5 separate regions of the Homo sapiens genome follow, and regions 1, 3, 4 and 5 are each linked to region 2. Evidence: promoter capture Hi-C in 16 types of primary human blood cells and fetal thymus (Javierre and others, 2016). All regions are on one chromosome and are shown on one strand. The core of a region is centred on a gene start or on the middle of the fragment in contact, and the rest is flanking DNA. Distances in the headings are between cores, read along the strand shown. Region 1 overlaps RORA (RAR related orphan receptor A). Region 2 holds the start of ANXA2 (annexin A2). Region 3 has its middle 11 kb from the start of BNIP2. Region 4 overlaps RORA (RAR related orphan receptor A). Region 5 has its middle 58 kb from the start of BNIP2.

What was found. The method cuts DNA at HindIII sites, captures the fragments that hold promoters and counts their contacts. A CHiCAGO score of 5 or more calls a contact.
Region 1: a contact is called between a fragment that was not itself captured here and the fragment with the promoter of ANXA2 in region 2, in 3 of 17 cell types (activated CD4 T cells, total CD4 T cells and naive CD8 T cells). The highest score is 6.3, in activated CD4 T cells.
Region 3: a contact is called between a fragment that was not itself captured here and the fragment with the promoter of ANXA2 in region 2, in 9 of 17 cell types (M2 macrophages, erythroblasts, M1 macrophages and 6 more). The highest score is 8.4, in M2 macrophages.
Region 4: a fragment that was not itself captured here is called in contact with the fragment with the promoter of ANXA2 in region 2 in 1 of 17 cell types (activated CD4 T cells); the score reaches 7.9 in activated CD4 T cells.
Region 5: a fragment that was not itself captured here is called in contact with the fragment with the promoter of ANXA2 in region 2 in 1 of 17 cell types (naive CD4 T cells); the score reaches 5.3 in naive CD4 T cells.

What each region holds. Positions count from the first base shown.
Region 1 is chr15:60,910,432-60,914,258 of GRCh38, forward strand. All of the region lies in intron 1 of RORA (RAR related orphan receptor A), which reads right to left. Among named protein-coding and RNA genes, the nearest start is that of RORA-AS4, 150 kb to the left of the region's middle. The HindIII fragment of the contact is 5,670 bases long and covers 1-3,827 here.
Region 2 is chr15:60,395,626-60,399,329 of GRCh38, forward strand. It overlaps ANXA2 (annexin A2), which reads right to left and starts at 2,361. Exons shown (of 13, transcript NM_004039.3): 1 at 2,318-2,361. RefSeq lists enhancers at 707-1,298, 1,299-1,890, 1,384-1,433, 1,494-1,543, 1,564-1,753 and silencers at 1,914-2,053, 2,124-2,663, 2,784-3,093. The HindIII fragment of the contact is 5,260 bases long and covers 1-3,704 here.
Region 3 is chr15:59,698,504-59,702,276 of GRCh38, forward strand. No RefSeq gene overlaps it. Among named protein-coding and RNA genes, the nearest start is that of BNIP2, 11 kb to the left of the region's middle. The HindIII fragment of the contact is 1,672 bases long and covers 1,287-2,958 here.
Region 4 is chr15:60,928,392-60,932,229 of GRCh38, forward strand. All of the region lies in intron 1 of RORA (RAR related orphan receptor A), which reads right to left. Among named protein-coding and RNA genes, the nearest start is that of RORA-AS4, 170 kb to the left of the region's middle. RefSeq lists an enhancer at 3,554-3,838. The HindIII fragment of the contact is 3,040 bases long and covers 808-3,838 here.
Region 5 is chr15:59,745,647-59,749,158 of GRCh38, forward strand. No RefSeq gene overlaps it. Among named protein-coding and RNA genes, the nearest start is that of BNIP2, 58 kb to the left of the region's middle. The HindIII fragment of the contact is 4,439 bases long and covers 1-3,512 here.

The sequences.
Region 1 (3,827 bases), core at 370-2,869, 510 kb after region 2:
TTTTTCAGAAAATTATTTGGAAGATCAAGTAAATAGAGTAGAGCATTTTAACTAGTGAAATACTCCTCTTATTCAATCACAGTTATTCTCTGCAGTATGTGGAAGCAGGTTAACACCATCTACCTCAAAACAACTTTGTGAAGTTGGGGGTCCCGTTTTAGACATGGGAGGACTGAGACTCAGAGAGTTTAGGTGGCTCATCTAAATTCACAAAGAACTTAGAGAGAAACAGACAAGGTACAAACCCAGATTGGCTAGTTCCATCTCATTTTCTCCATGGAATCACATGGCTTCTCTCTTGATACATGCAAAATGCTTTTAAAGGTTAAAAGAGTGATACTGTAACAACTAATTGAATTCATCCCCACACTGTCAGTCATGTCAATATTTAGGAGTTCACACTTCTCTCCATGGACATAAATCATCTTTATGAGGCTCTGGCTGTTTTTTTTTTGTTGTTGTTGTTTTTTGGGTTTTTTTTTTTTTTTTGAGATGGAGTTTTGCTATTGTTGCCCAAGCTAGAGTGCAATGGCGCGATCCTGGCTCACTGCAACCTCCGCCTTCCAGGTTCAATGATTCTCCTGCTTTAGCTTCCTGAGTAGCTGGGATTACAGGCGCCCACCACCATGCCCAGCTAATTTTTTTTTTTTTTTTTTTTTTTTTTTTTTTTTTTTTGTATTTTTAGTAGAAACAGGATTTCACCATGTTGGCCAGGCTGGTCTCGAATTCCTGACCTCAGGTGATTCACCTGCCTCAGCCTCCCAAAGTGCTGGGATTACAGGCATGAGCCACTGTGCCCGGCTGACTCTGGCTGTTTTTGTAACTACAGTAAGCTCCTCTGTGACGGAAGCTCCTAGTTGTATCTGATTCACTGGTGGACTGATGGAATGCCTGGACTAGTCTTCAACACACCTTCTGCTCTCAAGGCCATTTCCACGGCCATGTTTGAGAACATCAGATCAACCCAATTTTCTGTCATACTCAGTCAGTTGACTTTACTGGCGGACAAAATAGATAGTTGCCTTCCTGTTGTGATTTCTAGGATCTTAGGGGAAAGCCCTTCTTCTTCACTACCCTTCTATCCCTTCCCTTAAGGTTTTAAATCCTTGAATGAGGATTTTAAAAATCATTCTAGAATGAAAGACAGGTTTAAAGTGCAAATATATTAAAAAGCCAAGGACGCATTCTTTAATGAGTAAGTAAAATACTAAGCAATTCGTTTTGGGAGAAAGAAGGGCTAAAAGAGAAAAGTGTCAGGTAACGGATTTTTGATTTTTTTTTTTTTTTTGAAACAGTCTCGCACTGTCCCCCAGGCTGGAGTGCAATGGTGCAATTTCGGTTCACTGCAATTGCCAACTTCTGTGTCCAAGTGATTCTCGTGCCTCAGCCTCCCAAATAGCTGGGATTACAGACGTGCACCTGGCTAAGTTTTTTTTTTTTTGTATTTTTACAAAATACAAAAAAGACAGGGTTTTGCCATGTTGGCCAGGCTGATCTCGAACTCCTGACCTCAAGTGATCTGCCCCCATTGGCCTCCCAAAGTGCTGGGATTACAGACATTAGCCACCACAACCTGCCCAGTAACTGATTTGAGGGAAGGTCACAGAGGTGGAGAAAGGGCACAACAGGCATATTAGAAACTCCTCAGTTTGTCCAATATTTTGCTTAAGGCAATGCCTGTTAAACTCTCTGAACCAGACCAGGTGCAGTGGCTCACGCCTATAATCCCAGTACTTTGGGCGACCCATGTGGGAGGATTGCTTGAGGCCAGGAGTTTCAGACCAGTCTGGGCAACATGGCAAAACCCTGCCTCTACAAAAAAAGAAAGAAAGAGAAAAAAATAGCCAGATGTGGGGGGGCTGCATCTGTCGTTCTAGCTACTTGGGAGGCTGAGATGACAGGATCGCTTGAGCCCACGAGTTCAAGGCTACAGTGAGCTATGATTGCACCACTCTATTCCATCCAGCCTGGGCAATAGAGGGAGACCATGCCTCAAAAAAACAAAACAAAACAAAACAAAAAAACAAAAAAATCACCACCTCGCCGGGCATGGTGGCTCACACCTGCAATCCCAGCACTTTGGGAGGCCGAGGCATGTGGATCACGAGATCAGGAGATCGACACCATCTTGGCTAACATGGCGAAACCCCATCTCTACTAAAAATACAAAAAATTAGCCAGGCATGGTGGCAGGCGCCTGTAGTCCCAGCTCCTCAGGAGGCTGAGGCAGGAGAATGGCAGGAACCCGGGCGGCGGAGCTTGCAGTGAGCCAAGATCGTGCCACTGCACTCCAGCCTGGGTGACAGAGCAAGACTCCATCTCAAAACAAACAAACAAACAAACAAAACAAAACAAAACACAACAAAAAAAATCACCACCTCTAGGTGCTAGAGAAACAGTGTTTGGGGAATCCATTAACAGGTGTGATTTAAAAATTTTTTACAACTGCTTTACTGAGGCATAGTTTATATACCACAAAATCCACACATTATAAGCATCCAATTTAATGATATTTAATGATTTTTAGTAAATGTATAGAGTAGTACAACCATTACCATAATTTAGTTTTAGAAACAAGTTCAATTTGAAAAAAATAGTGCTTTGAAAAGGTATCACTGCTTGCCCATTATAGCACTATAGGGTTTATTCTTACTGATAATCTGCCTAAAGTAGGCTCCACAAAACACTGGGTAAGGGCAGCCACGCTTTGGAGGACTTCCTCTTTCCCTGGCTTCTGAGTGATTATGTGCTGGGATTCAGGAGTGAGCTCAGAGCTCACCACCTCGTGCTCAGGCTCAGGGAGGGGCCCTTGGTGTGGACATGGAAATCCCTGCCATGTCCATAGCCTCTATGCTCACCACCTGGAAAGTTACAGAGAGCTCCCAGTTACACCTCTGGTTTCTAGAGCCAGTAGAGCAAGCCTGTGATCAGCCCCTCCACCCCAGCCTCCTACAGCCACCTCTCCCAGGAAAGCCTAGAGGAAATTGGCCAACGTCTTGGTATTCCATTCTGGTTGCCAAGTGCCCTTATTGTTTTTGCATTTCTAAGAGACTGTCAGTACAACTTCCCCCGTGACTGCCACGTGACAGGCTGTGCTGTCCTTTATCTCAGGGCACCAAATGACTTACTTCATTCCAGGTCTTTCTGTTTCACTGTGAGTCAGGTGGAAAACAGAAAGGTGGCCCTATTTTAAGGGAAATGTTAAAACAAAGACAATGCTGTGCTTTGCTGGCATTTGTTAGCAGCAGACACGGTTAAAGAATGGCTATGGGCAAATATTTGGATGACTATAGAATCTGCTTAAATACTATGGATTTACTGTATAGGGTGTCAAAGTAACAACTGTAGAGTTAGAGTCTATTAAAGGGGGTCTCAACAAAAAATATTTATGCCCTTATATGCATGCTGCTTTGTCTTTTGAAAATTATCTTTCCTGTTTTTTCCATCTCATAGTTCCCTCCAAACAATTGACCACTCCTTTTGCCATGTCACTGCTTCCTATGGAACTCAGTCCGGTGGATTAAGTGTTTCTGTTAATGTCTGTCTCCCTTTCACACTGACTTTTGTATGAAAGGGACCGTGCCTCTTCACCTCTGTAACTCTAGTGTATACCATGGTGTCTGGCAATAGATGATCTGCACTCCATTGACTGGGAAGAGGCTGTGAAAACAAAGACGGGTGCACGTTCAGAGCAAATATTTCCTGCTTTGGCTGTGCTAATTTGCTGTACTTTACACAGTCAGGGAATGATGTGTGATCATTTGTTGAATTAAGAAATTGTTTTGGACTCAAGAAGCACCAAATGTAAACTGCAATGTCAGACTGCG
Region 2 (3,704 bases), core at 1,111-3,610:
CGGCCATGACTGCGAGCCTAATGTCAATCAATACCATAGTTTAATAGCTCAAAGACACAAGATGCTAAATATTGAGACTCCAGTGCAAGACTGAGCTCCTAATCAAAGTCAGTGAGTCAGCAATATTTCCTGGGCATTTACCACAGGCAGTCTAGTTGGCACTGCGGGAAATTACAAAATCTAAACGGTCTCCAAATCACAAACCTCCAATTGTAAAAATGCACATACATGTCACATCCTTCCACTGCAGATGCAAGGGACATTTTTGGACAAACCCTTGACCTTTAGATAATCGACAGACTTGGAAGAAGGGAAGAAATTACTAAGCAGGACTGTGTTAACACTCCTGGCCCTTGCCCATCAAGGGCACCTCTGCTGCCCCAGTCTTACCAAAAATCTTCCTTAATATTGCCTGAATATTGCTGCTTTACATTCTATAAATTATAGATCTGTTTAGGTGAACGAGGGTTTTTTATTATTATTATGTATTTATTTTTTGAGACTGGGTCTTGCTATGTTGCTCACATTGGCCTTGGACTCAAGAGATCCACTAGCTTGAGCAGCTGGGACTACAGGCCCACGACCACGCCCAGTATCGTTGTTTTTTAAATAACAAGACTCCTCTCGGTTGCTGAGGCTCTTAGGACCACCAACCATTCCTAACTTAATGAATATCGATTCAATCTGCTAGTCTCTAGCTGGATGCAGGTCCGCCGAAATGGGAAGGAGGAAGGAATGCAGCGTAACTGGACCGGCCTGGATGGCTGTTGTAATGCGTCACGGAAGAGCCAGAAGAGCGTCTCTAAGGAGGTGGAAGGTGGAAAAAAGAAAGTGGAACAGGGGCAAAGACATAATTTTCCAATTAAAATAATTTACTCAGTGTCAACCTTAAAGCTAAAAAAAGTTCCAGAAAAATATTTCAGTGATTTAGTCTTCCTACACACACATTGCCCCTCACTACCCTCCACCTCCCCACCACCAATCCCATAATCAGGCAGTGCATGTTAAAAAGGTCTTTCAGGGCTAGCCTGGGAACGTCAGCACCTTCTGCAACACTGTTTCAGTGGGAAAGTGCATTCTGCATTCCAAGTCACCAAGTTCCAGACAGGCACAGTAGCACACACGTGTGAACAGAATCCATCAGTACAGTCTGGGGCCCAGGCCTTTGCACACCAACAACTTAAGGTTCTTGGTAATGGCCCAGCGTGCACCCATGAGGCCACTGCTCTTTTACACACGCACTCAGAACACCCACAGCTTTAAAACGGCAATCTTACTACAAAAATGACACTTTGCATTTGCACAGCACTTTGTTTTTTGTGTACTTTACACATTTATTACCTAATGACTGTGTTTTTTGAAATCTCCAATAACTCTGGGTGGTGGTAAGAATAGGCATCCTTAAGCCACCTTCCCAGATGAGGAAACTTATCTGTGTTCCCCTCCTTCTTCTCAACAGCCGGCTGATGGAACCCAAGCCCTCCACACCAGCAGTGGGGCCAGCTGCACAGAGCGGCCAGAAGGGAGAGGCCCCGGGGCCACGCCCTTCTCTCTACTCTCAGTTCCTGACTCATTGTCACATCATGGCGAGTAACAGGACAACCCTCCCCACAGAATCATGGGGGACACTACCTTCCTGAGGCCAATGTGTTCAACCAAGCGGGAAACTCTCCGGGTAGAGTGAAATCCGAAGTTGCTATGCTACAAGATAACCTAGAGCAAGGGGAATAACTGACGTTTTAATGTCTTCTTTTATGGGGGGCTGAGGGGTGCCTACTCACACTCCCCCCTCTCGTCTTCCCCCGCTACTTCCCTCCTGCTGGTCGGTTCAACTCCACAAGCGCGCGTTTGTTTCGAGTACAGTAACTTAGAGCAGATGGGGGGCACTTTCTAGAGGGCAGTGGAAAGCCCACTTGCTACTGCTGCGCCGGGGACCTGCGGCTCCCTGGGCGGCCACGCCCTGCCTCGGCGGCGCCTGGCGCGTCTGGAATGCGGGGCCTCCCTCCGCCCCTCTCCCCACGCCGCCTCGCCCCGCTCCCGCTAGGGCTTCTTAGAGAAGCCCGACCCCCCACCACCTCTGCCCTGCACCCTCCCGGCCCGAGGGCCGGTGGCCCCTCACCCCTGCCCCAAACACCTTGTCCCTGAGCCCCCTCCCCAAAGACTCTCCAGTGCCGGCCGTCCCTTCAGCCCCCTGCCCCCGACGGCCTCCGGGGCCAGTTGCCGGGGCCTCCCTGCCAGGCCGTACCCTTCTTCCCAGCGTCTCCACACCCCGCTAGCTGGCGGCCCATCGCGGGCGGGCAGGGCGCGCCCCGCTTACCTGGGCCGTGCGCCGAGAGCTGAGAGCGTCCCCAAATGCTGAGCAGAGCCGGCTGGCCTGGGTGGGGCTTTTATACCCGCCACATCCTCCCTAGGCGAGGCGAGGCCCGCCCCGCCCCGCCCCGCCTCCCCCTTACACGGCCCGCTCCCACCCCAAGTCAGGGGTGACTCACCCCGGCCCGCCGGCCCGCAGGGACCGCGCCCTGGAACGCTCCCGAGCCGCGCCACGCGGGAGCGGCCCCAGCGCCCCTGGCCCTGCCCTCCGAGAAAGCCCGGCCGAGGCTGCCCCGAGGCCCACAGGGACCCCGTTTCTTCCTCCTTTCCTCATTTTACTTCTTAAGTGCCACGTCGAGCTCTCAGCCTCGGCTTGGGTTAATAAATTAACAAGACTTTAGTAGTAGACTCTGGGCTTGATTAAGTGTTTTTTTTTTTTTTTTTTTTTTTTTGGCGTTAATGCAATGGAGGAAAGAATTGTTCCAAGAAACATAAATCTGGACTCCCCTGAGCTGGGGCTGTTGGCATCCAGCGCCCCATTACCGTCTGCAAACATGTCAGCTTAACCTCTGGCCGCCAGTTCCCGGGGGGCGCCCGGGGAGGGAGGGAGATTCGCCCTGTGCTGCAAAGCCTGGCCCGCCCCGGCCTCCGAGGGCCAGGAAGCCCCGAGCCTGGGCTGGGAGGCCAAAGCCGGGAGCCAGGATCCCACCTCAGTCCCGCCCAGGGTGGCGCCCCTGTCCCTAGCACGGCTGTGCTCCGCTTCTCTCCGCGCCTGGGGCATCTCTGCGCGGCCTCGTAGCAGGCAGTCCTGAGCGGGGTGGGGCCCATAGCTTTGAACCCGGAGTTTCGTGTGTGTGTGTGTGTGTGTGTGTGTGTGTGTGTGTGTGTGTGTGTGTGTGTTTCGAACCCGGAGTTTCAACAAAGAACTTTCCTCTCCTTCTTTCATGACTGCTGGGGTGTGTGTGTGCGTGTGTGGTGTGTGTGTGTGTGTGTGTGTGTTTCTTGCAGCCGTTTAGCCAACTCCCTTGCTCGGTGTTGCTGTTACTCGCTTTTCTTCCGAGAGAGAGAGAGAGAGAGAGAGAGAGAGAGTTTCTTGCAGCACAGAGAGAGAGAGAGAGAGTGAGATAGAGAGTTTCTTGCAGCCAGTTAGCCAACTCCCTTGCTCGGTTTTGCTGTTTCTCACTTTTCTTCCGTGTGTGTGTGTGTGTGTGTGTGTTTCTTGCAGCCGTTTAGCCAACTCTCTTGCTCGGTTTTGCTGTTTCTCGCTTTTCTTCCGTGTGTGTGTGTGTGTGTGTGTGTGTGTGTGTGTTTCTTGCAGCCGTTTAGCCAACTCCCTTGCTCGGTTTTGCTGCTTCTCGCTTTTCTTCCAAGAGTCACGTTGGCAACGTGCAGGC
Region 3 (3,773 bases), core at 873-3,372, 700 kb before region 2:
TTTTAGTGGAGATGGGGTTTCACCAAGTTGGCCAGGCTGGCCTGGAACTCCTGTTCTCAGGTAATCAGCCCACCTCGGCCTCCCAAAGTGCTGGGATTACAGGTGTGAGCCACCGCGCCTGGCCAGTGTGAAGAAATCTTAAGAGTTCATATTCAAGTCCTTTGTGAGGATATTTCTGCAGTCATAAAAACTTACAAATATGAGTTTAAAATTATCTGAGGATATACATTTTATATTATAAAATCATAAACTTTGGCAAAATCATAGCAACCACTTGGTTACTATCATGGTCGCCATTTGGAAAGTAGCTGATGGACAGTGATGCATGTACACTGAATCCTCTACACTGAATAGTATACAAGATCTTCTACACTCAACAGGGGTCATTACAAAAATGATTCTTCACTGAAATAATTAATGCTCTTGCAAAAGTATTAATACATAGTATCTGCATGCTTGGTTTATAATTAAAGTAAAGATTAATCTTGATGAGGGAAGTAGATTTCGCTCTTTCTTCTGTTCTTCAGGATATGAAATGTTAGTAACACTGTGATCAACTATATTTAGAAAAACATGAATAAGCAATAGCCTCCAATTAGAAAAAAGCAGTTTGTTTGATTGATTGATAATTTTAGTAGTGATAATGTTTTTTAAATTATTTTTGGGGTGGGTAAGTGGAAGTAAGAATTGATCAACTAAAGCTAACTGTTTTGCGGTCAGTTTCAGTCTCCTTATCCAGATTAACACAAAATTAGATATAACACTGTCCTTCATCAAAGCATTAATCATTCATTCTGCATCTTTAGAGTCAAAGTGCAATCTTATTTGTTTAGAGAAAACAAATGCATTTCAAAATACACAAGTAATTGTTGGGTCAATTGGAAATTTTATTACATTTAACAAAACAAAGCACTGATATGGCTCTATGTAAGGCACATGCATTTTTATTTAATACAAATATAAAAATTAAAAGGTGGCATCTAATTCACTGTTGCAATGGGTAAATGTTCTACAAGTATATTTCCAAAAATAGTTTACATCCTAAAAGTAACTTACTCAGCTGAGAGAATCTAGGTTATTGTTTGTATTTTGAAACATGGGAACTCTGTAAATTGATAAAAATGTACTGAGTTTTAAAAATGAATTTCAGTATAACTGAGAAGAAAATATTAAAATTGTAACATTATTTCTCATTTATGTGGTTCCTTTATGATAAAGAAGGAGAAACACCTTCTCCTAATACAATTGCTAAAACACCAAATTGTACTTACTAGGAAAAAGAAGAAAGCTTTCCAATTTCAGGTATATACATAATAGGGAGAAATGAAATGCGAAGTTTAGTATGAATTATCTTCTTTAAAAGATCCTTAATATCTAACATCTAGATTCTTTTTTTTTAGTGGAATACTAATTCCTTAGCAGATTACTCATTTAATATGAATGATTTTAATGTAAGACATAAACACACACATACATGAATGAGATGCCATTCCATCTATATGCCTTGTGTGTAGTTTGAGGTATGGGGGCAGGATTTGAATCAGTAAGATGACTGATGCCTGAAATTACATTATTCATCTTTCCTTAATTAGCTTATGACACTGATCCATGTTAAAATGCAATTCTTTTTCATAGAAGGGCTCAACACATAAACCTTATGCTAAAATGGAAGGCGTGCGAACTTGGTTGGAGTTAGGAGAAGCATTTTAATTATTATTTTTCTATAGTCTCTGTGACCTTAGGCAAGTTACCTAACTTCCCCTGACATTGTTTCCTTATCATTAATTTCTGACGTACCTATGACTCATCTAAGTTAGCATTGTGCCTGAAGCTGAGATGATTATTTCCTTGATTTTTAGAAATTCACTAAAATGTTATGTGAATGTTTAAGTACAAGCATCTGAAAATTATATTTTACATGTCTATATTCTGTCTTTTCAAAAAATGGCATAACACAAGAAGACCATCCAAATATGTACATAATTCCACACCAGGTAATAGGAAAGATTTTAAAAATCTGAATATTTACAAAGTATTTTGGCATTTACAGTTTTCAGGTTTGCACAGTATAGGTGAAAGAGCCCTGAACTCAGAATCAGCAAATTTTCTTTAAAATTTCAATCCGACCATTGAATTTGTAGATCCTCCTCCCCCTACTCCCTCCCACTTCATTCCTATCTGCGTTACCTAAGACTAGAAACCAGGCAACAACATATGAAGAAACAGATGACAGTTTCAGGCATTCCCTTGAACTGATTGTTTTTTGTTTAAGTCCCATTCTGAAAATGCAGAATTCCTTCAAAGTTTTGTCTATAAGACTGCCTCTTCTTTTTTGTTCTTTTTTTTTTTTTTTTTTGAGACGGAGTCTCGCTGTGTTGCCCCAGCTGGAGTGCAATGGCGTGGTCTCTGCTCACTGCAACCTCTGCCTCCCAGGTTCAAGCAATTCTCCTACCCCAGCCTCCCGAGTAGCTGGGATTACAGGCCTGTGCCACCATGCCCGGTTAATTTTTGTATTTTTAGTAGAGACAGAGTTTCACCATGTTGGCCAGGATGGTCTTGGACTCCTGGCCTCAAGCGATCTGCCCGCCTCGGCCTCCCAAAGTCCTGGGATTACAGATGTGAGCCACCACGCCTGGCCAAGACTGCCTCTTCTTGTAATAGTTTTTGCTTCAGTTCCTTATCCAACCTGGTGGTATAGAGAACACATGCTGAAATGTAATCACTTGAAACTTGCTCTTTTTTTCATTTTAATAATTGTTTTTTGTGTTTTGACTATTAAAAAAACCACTCCCTAGCAAATGAATTTCTTGGCTCAGCTATATATATTTGTAAAGTATTAATAAAAACGTGTGTATTTTTAGGTTCTTCTAGCTAGGGTACAATATATTTCCGAAGGTGTCCTAGGGACCTCTTAAATAAGGAATCTTTTTGTTAAATTAACAAATCTATTCAAAATTAAGCTTCTTATTTCTGTTTATTTATTTTTTTTAAGTCACAGGTTGTGGTCTTCACTGCCCATCTTCTCCTACACCCTTATAAAATGGTTTGGTATTTCATTTTTGATCTAGGAAAGAATAATTCATTTTTATCTTCATTTAATTTTAATAGTCAAGGAGTAGTCTATAAAGATTGAATAAATTTAATCCTTCTGCAATTAGTGTCAAGTTAATTCATTCTGGATGTGAATAACTGAAGAAATACAGACCCTCCCACACACTGACAGACACCTTTATCAGGTGTAATGTTTTATGTAAATGATTCTACTTGAAAGGAAGTTGTCTTGTTTCTCCCTCCTCCCTTTCTGTCCTTGTTAATTGTTTTTAAACCTAAACTTTCTCTCCGCATTTTCTCAGGACTATAGTACCATTCACTGGATCAACTGTGTTGATCCTACAAAGGTAACACATTTTGCCGCTGATTTGACTCCTTTGCACAGAGAAATTCTTCAGTTTTTCCCCTCTCATAAAAGTTCACAACCATGTAACTTCTGTGGGTTGCTCCAGCAAGGATATGATCAGACCTCATGAGGATTAAAAGGATCTGGGTATGTCTCGTGTGCAGCAAGCAGATAGGATTATTGTAAGCAGCCTTTTGTCTCGCCCAACACGATCCATCTGAATCATCCCAGATTTGATCAACCCAGAGATGACTTCTCTGAGCCAGAATATTTTCCCTCCTATGGAGAAGCCAAGATACAAAAATCTATCAGGCAGGTTAACATCTAAAACACTTAAAATAACCTTTCTGCTTTTTTTCCATTAAAATCAACACTT
Region 4 (3,838 bases), core at 1,078-3,577, 530 kb after region 2:
AAACACAACCAACATTCTAGGCGGGAAGCTCGTGGAAGCCAACAACAAAAGCATTCGCGCTCAGTATGCCTGCCTTCCCCTTGGAACCTAATACATGGTAGGACCTCAGTAAACACTACTTGCCAAATGAATAGACTAAGTAATAATCAGAAGTGGAGAGGTTAAACTAATACAATGGGCAGTGAAAAGAAAAGCTGTTTTTCGTTTTCTTATACCCCTTAGAACTGAAAAAGACTCTGAGTTTGTCCAATTCGACTCCCTCATTTCACAAGGAAGGCATCTGAAGCTCAGAGAGACAAAGTGACCGCCCTAAAGTCCCACAGCATGTTCATGGGAGAGTTAGGACTGTGCTGGGAGCTTCTGATGGTTTCCACTGTGCCATGCTGACTCTCCAGGCAAGTCTAAAGTAATGCTGGCAATAATGCACAGAGCTCTAGGCACAGGCTCCTCTGGAAGGTGCCAGACAGCATACAGGCTGGGGCACCAGGTGTACAGCTAATCATCCCCAGAGAGGTTTACCTGAGCTTCCAAAGGGTTTTTTTCTTTTCTTTCTTTCTTCTTCTTCTTTTTTTAATCTTGAATTGTTTGGTGAAGAGTGTCTCAAGCCAAGGAGCAGACACACTTGTGTGCCCCGCTCCCACTCTTCCCTCCTTTGTTCTTTTCTTTGAGCTGGGTCCATTGGAGGAGCATTGTATGGTGCCCCTGCTGGGTCTACAAGGCCCCTTTTTGGTTCAATTAATGAGCCATAAATAACCCAATGAAGGTGTCAACAAAGAGGGTAATTTATCATACCTTGTCAAGACGGCAAGCTTTGTGAGGCAAGCGCTCATTCACAGTCTGGTGCAACATGTTAAGATTTATTCCTGGCCAGGTCCCTCCTCCTCCAGCCCTCCCTCCCCCTATCAAAATTTATCTTTCACAGGAATCCTCACAGGTGTGCTGCTTTGACAAATAAGCTATGAAGTCTGGTATTCATCACTGGCTGGTCTTTGTTGAGAGGAAGGCAGCGGGAAATAAATTTATGTTAGAGGGAAGGTACTTGTGATTCAAACACACTCAAGGGGAGCAACGAGGTTATTTCCATCCTCCTGGTTCTGCAAAAGGCGAGAAGGAGATAATGCTAGGACAGCCACTTTCTTCAGTTTTTACTACTTGATGGAAGAACAGCCAGGACTTTACTGAGATGCGCACTTAGCTGTCAGTCTGGAGGCTCCAGTCGCATTCTCTTGAAAATGTTTGGTTGGGAAATCTTACAGTGGAGTAGAAAGTGCTACAAGACATCTGATATGCCCAGAATCGCCATATCAGGAGGTTTTCCCGCTTCGCTCTTCAACTTCTGGCTTCCCTTGGAGTGCTCATCCTGAAGTGTGAGTTTGCATAATAGCCATCTGGGAGTGCTTGCTAAAATACTGATTCCCAGGCCTCCCCTCCAGCCCCCAGAGATACGGACCTGGGAAGTCTAGGGAGGAGCCCAGGAATGTGTATTTTGACAAGCTCGCCTCTGTTCTTGCCTTCAGACGCATATGGTTTATGGAGCACATTTTGGATCAACACGTGCTGCTTAGAGTCTCTGGTGCATGCCTCTGAACTTTCTGCAATGATGGAAATGCTCTCTATTTGTGTTACTTAATACTGCAGCCACTAGTCTCTTGTGGCTGTTGGGCCCTTGAAATTTGGCTAGTGTGAGAGAGGAATGGAATTTCTTAATAGTATTTAATTTTAATTTATTGAAATTTATATAGCCATGTGGCTAGCGGCTACCATTTTAGATGGTAGAGCTCTAGCCCATCATTCTGCATAGTAGATACAGACGAAAAAGCTCAACATAAGACCTGATATGCCAGTCTCCTCCTACTCTACCCTATTTTCCAGCTAAGAAATACTCCAAGTCCCTGGAGTGTGCCCTATTTAGTCATTTCTAAACAGGAAGAGGGAGGAGCATATCCTCCCACCTCCATTCTCAAGGTCTATATAAGCCGAGAGACAGAAAGATCCAATTTCTTAAGTGCCTTCCATGTGGGACGGTGGGAGGCATCTTTGAGAATTACATATGGTCTCCCAATACAGGGAGGGAAGACAAATATACAAGTGACCCAACACCAGGTGGCCCACTATGAAGCTGTAGAAAACACCTATAGATGCAAAGTGCCAGGAGTCCTCAGCCTCCCCTAGCAGATGTGAACACTTCCGGACACCAGCCATTCCCTTCCCACTTTGGAATTAATGCAACAGCCTTGTAGCTCATTATGCCCAATTCACTGAAGGAAGTTAGACTTCTGAATTCCTTCCTTGAAGTGTCCAAGGTAGGTTTCCCACTGTCTGCCCTGTTGAGATGGGACCCACCTCTGTGGTTACACTTTGTATGTGGTGACTGTCATCACCTGCTCATCTGCTCACCTGTAGACTTTGAGGTCCGTGAGCAGAGATTCCCAATCATTTATCTCTGAGCCAAGAGACCGACCCTGGTGGGGCAAAACCAGTATGTTCTAAAATGAAATGGCCTCACATCTGCCTATATGAGGCCTCTTACGTCTTGCTTAAGGATAAAAGTGGCCCTTGAAAAACAGAAAGTGGTCTGTTCTCTGAGGGTAAAAGGGTGTAGGTGTTCCCTTTCTACAGTGTTATGAGAGGGACTTACCCCTTAAATGTGTATTTTAAATGGCAGGGGGAAGAGGGGGAAGACCACATGGAAGAGTGACTGGTCCAGGGTCTGGGGAAGAACTCCCTGTCTGTGAGAAAATTCCACCTGGGAAAGAGAAGGTGAGTCTGCCTAGAGCAGCAGATAGGCTCCAGGTCCATAAGTGGGGCCAGGCAGGCTTACAGGAGTAGGAGGCACGGAGGCACATTGGGAGGTAGGCTGTTCACTGCCCAGAGGCACAAAGCCCCTGTCCCAGAAGTGAAGGGCAGCCTACAGGCCTCCACTGGATGCCCTGCCACCCACGAACAGCCCCTCCCTGCCCAAGCACTCTTCCTTACTCACTCCTCTGGCTCCATGGGGAAGCAGAATCCCAACTCATAGCTGCAGGAGGAATAGCTGAAGAGAGAAGAGGCCTGGCTTCAGCTTCCAGAGCTAAGCCCTGCCAATCTCCCAGACTCCTGCAGTCTTTCAAGTCTCCGACATTTGATTACTCCTTTCTTCTCATGAAGTGTCCTTATTTTGCCTCTAGAAAACAGGCACTGGTATCAAGAGTTGCATGGCTGATGCCAAGACTTAATGCTCCAGAGTGTCTTGCACAGGGCCAAAGCTGCCTCTTCTGGCACACACAGAGTTCTACAGAAGGGCCCCCTTATAGGCCACCAGCCACTGTGAGGACCTCATAAGCAAATGTAAGGGCAGGAAGAGATGGGACATGGTCTGGCAAAAACCTCAGCCTTCTCCCTAAGCTCTTCTGCCTTATGAGGCTGATAGCTCAGACTCAAAACAGTTGGCTGAGTTCTCCAGCTAAATATTCATTTCTCCAGCTAAATATTGATTCCTTCAATATTAACACCATGTCAGGGAGCCATGTTAAGCCATTGCCTCAACTTGGCACTGCAGCTAAACATAATGAAATGCCAGAAATTAGGGTCTAGAATTGATTATGGTACCAATTCTAATCCTGAATTCTCAAAGCAATATCTAGAAAAATATTGAATCAAGAGTTTTTTTTTTTAAATGAAGATCCTATACTGGAGGGAGATGGGCAACTTCTATTTGGAATAACAAGCAGTATCAATGTCTTTGAATTCACCTTGAAAACCAATCCTTTGGAGTAGAAAGAATTCATGGTATTTGAAATGTCCAAGATTACTAATGAGGGGAAAATCTGAGGGACCTGAGAAGGTGGGGTTGCTTGAG
Region 5 (3,512 bases), core at 153-2,652, 650 kb before region 2:
AGCCGAGCGTGGTGGTGGGCACCTGTAGTCCTAGCTACTTGGGAGGCTGAGGCAGGAGAATGGTGTGAACCTGAGAGGCAGAGCTTGCAGTGAGCCGAGATCCCACCACTGCACTCCAGCCTGGCCGACAGAGCAAGACTCCATCTCAAAAAAAAAAAAAAAAAAAAAAGAAAAGAAAAAGAAAACAACAGTGACTATATAATTTTAGTGTGAGGAATGCCTATTTAAACATAACACCAAAGCCAGAAACACACACACACACACACACACACACAAAGAAAAAAGAAAAAATACCCTCACCTCCAAGAAGACCAGATTTTTATCTTTTTATTTAAGTATTCACAGACTTATTTCCTTTTTATTTTTATTTTTTATTGTTTGAGATGGAGTCTCACTATGTTGCCCAGGCTGGAGTGCAGTGGCACGATCATGGCTCACTGCAGCCTCAACTTCCCGGGCTCAGGTGATCTTTCCACCTGAGCCTCCTGAGTAGCTAGTACTACAGGCATGCACCACCATGCCCTGCTAAATTTTGTATTTTTAGTAGAGACAGGGTTTCACTATGTTGCCCAGGCTGGTCTTGAACTCATGGCCTACCAAAGTGCTGTGATTATAGGAGTGAGCCACCATGCCTGGCCTCCTTTTTATTTTTAAAGAACATATTTGCTTGTATCAACATAAGAACAGTGCTTCATATCTCTTTCCAATTCATATTATTCTGTCATGTTTTCCCAAATTAACTGCATGCAGGATTTCTCCTCCCTGTTCGCTTAACATGAGCAATGTAGGGGTGAATTAGAGCTGCACTGTGCCCACAGCTGGTTGAGCCCCAGCATGCTGTTGGGGACCAAATTGGAAGTGATGGTAGAAGCTACAGCAGGATAGATTTTTCTCTGTGCGAGGAAAGCATTCTCGTATGTAGAGCTACTTAAACACAAAAGGGGCTCCCTCACAGGTAGTGGATGAGCCCCGCTTTTGGAGAAGTGTTGATGCATCTCTAGGCTCCTTCAGAAGGAAAACCTACACCAGGTGGGAGGTTGGAGGAGTGGACTTGCAAGGACTCCTCCAGTTCTCTGATTCTGTGATCCGGTCACCTGGGGTCTTTTCATTGAACAAATATTTATTGAGCCCTTACCGTGTGACATGCACTGTGTATTGAACACCTCTTGAGCGCCACTTCAGGTCTTCTCAGACTTGCCTCTTGTGCCAGCCACAGCTGTGGTGCCCAGTTCCCTGCAGACTTCAACAAAGCTCCACAGATGCAGCCTGATGGGGCTTCGCCTCTGGCCTGCAGCGTGAGCCTCTTTGCTTCCTGCCCTGGCTTCTCTACAGCTGTGTCATCCGTTGGATTCCCAGGGGAGTCCACTTGGCACTCAGACCTGTGCAACCCGGAAGGGTGGAGGAGTTAGAGCTCCATAAGATACCTGGACCAGTGGGGCATGGGGTTCCTCCCACTTTCTTCTTCTGAGAAGACGGCCTGAGAGGCATTTCAGAAGTCTCCCCAGAAGGTCCTGCGGGATCCACCTGTTACTGCTGCAGCAGTTGACTTGATAATGTGACCTTGTACTGCTTCTCCCTCCTTTGCTCTTGCCCACTGGTGTCACAGTCTCAAATAACTATTCAAATACAGGCTTTGTCTTCCACTCCACTTTTGGGGAAATCTAGGCTAAGATAATTGTAATAGGTGATAGGAATATAGTATTGATCAAAATAAATGTGACTTCAGTTGGCATGGGGATTATAGTCTTATGATATACGCTACCATGAAGGTCTATATTTCTATTTCATCCACAGGGAGAAAGAGAAATACAGGTGCTTGGTCACTGCATATTCATGGGGGGTTTGATAGTTATAAGATCTTTCAGAGACACCTTTATCATATAATCTTGGCTGAAATTTTACTAGCACTGTTATTCACAGTTTATCATCATAGAACCTGAGTAACAGAGGTGTGAACCAGCTGTTGAAGCCTACATTCATTAGATATGCAATACGATCTAAGAAATTGGAAAATAGATTTACTAGAGTCCTTTTCAGATCAACATATGATATGAGCCTTTGGGTTTTTAAATTACTTCTTTGTAATTTATTTTGGGGATACCTTCCTAAATGCTATTATTTGATACTAAGTTGCTGGTTTGGAAGTTTATCTTTGGCATAAAATGGAATGTTCTGGCTGGGTGTGGTGGCTCACACCTGTAATCCTACCACTTTGGGAGGCTGAGGCAAGTGTATCACTTGAGCTCAGGAGTTCCAGACCCGCCTGTGAGATCCTGTCTGTACAAAAAATACAAAAATTAGCCAGGCATGGTGGTGCGAGCCTGTGGTCCTAGCTAACTGGGAGGCTGAGGTAGGAGGTTTGCTTGAGCCCAGGAGGTGGAGGTTGCAGTGAGCCAAGACTGTGCCACTACACTCCAGCCTGGGTGACAGAGTGAGACCCTGTCTGAAAAAATAAAAATAAAATAAAGTGGGATGTTCTTAAGTTTCTTATAAAGTATGACTTTTTTGTAGTTTAATTTTTTTGAATACATAATGTATTCATATGGTTAAAATTCCCCCTCCTGCCCTCCATGTCCTCCAGTTCATATTCTCTCCAAGAGGTAACTAGTTTTTAGTTTCTTATTTATTCTTCCAGAGAATTTGTATGCATATTAGAATCAACACACATACATATTTTTTTGCTTTTTAATTTTGTTTATTTTTTTAATGGTAGTACACTATGTTTGTCATGGATCTTGCTGTTTTCTCTTAATATATCTTTGAGATCTTTCCATTCTATTATATAAATAAATTCATTCATTTTATAGCTATAGAGTATTTAATTGTTATATATGTTGCAATGAGCTATCCTGTACAAATGTCATATTTACATGTGTAAGTATATCTGTGGGGTAAATGTTTTAAAAGAGAAAATGCTGCATTAAAGACATATGCGCTTGTCATTTTGATAGCCATTGACATATTGCTCTTTGGTGGCATCGTAGCAATTTGCATGCCCACTGACAGTATATGAAAATGCCTATTTAGGCATAAAATGTTTACTTTTAAAAATTAACAAATGATTTACATTCTATTATAAAAATACATGCACTCGTATGTTCACTGCAGCACTAGTCACAATAGCAAAGACATGAAATCAGCCCAAATGCCCATCAATGATAGACTGGACAAAGAAAATCTGGTACACATACACCACGGAATACTATGAAGCCAAAAAAGGAATGAGATCATGTCCTTCACAGGGACATGGATGAAGCTGGAAGCCATTATCCTCAGCAAACTAACACAGGAACAGAAAATCAAACATCACATGTTTTCACTTATAAGTGGGAGCTGAACAATGAGGACACATAGACACAAAGAGGGGAACAACACACGGTGGGACCTGTCAGGGGAGGGCGGGGGTGGGGAGAGCATTAGGGAAAAGAGCTAATGCATGCTGGACTGAATACCGTAGGTGATGGGTTTAAAGGTGCAGCAAACCACCACGGCACACGTTTACCTATGTAACA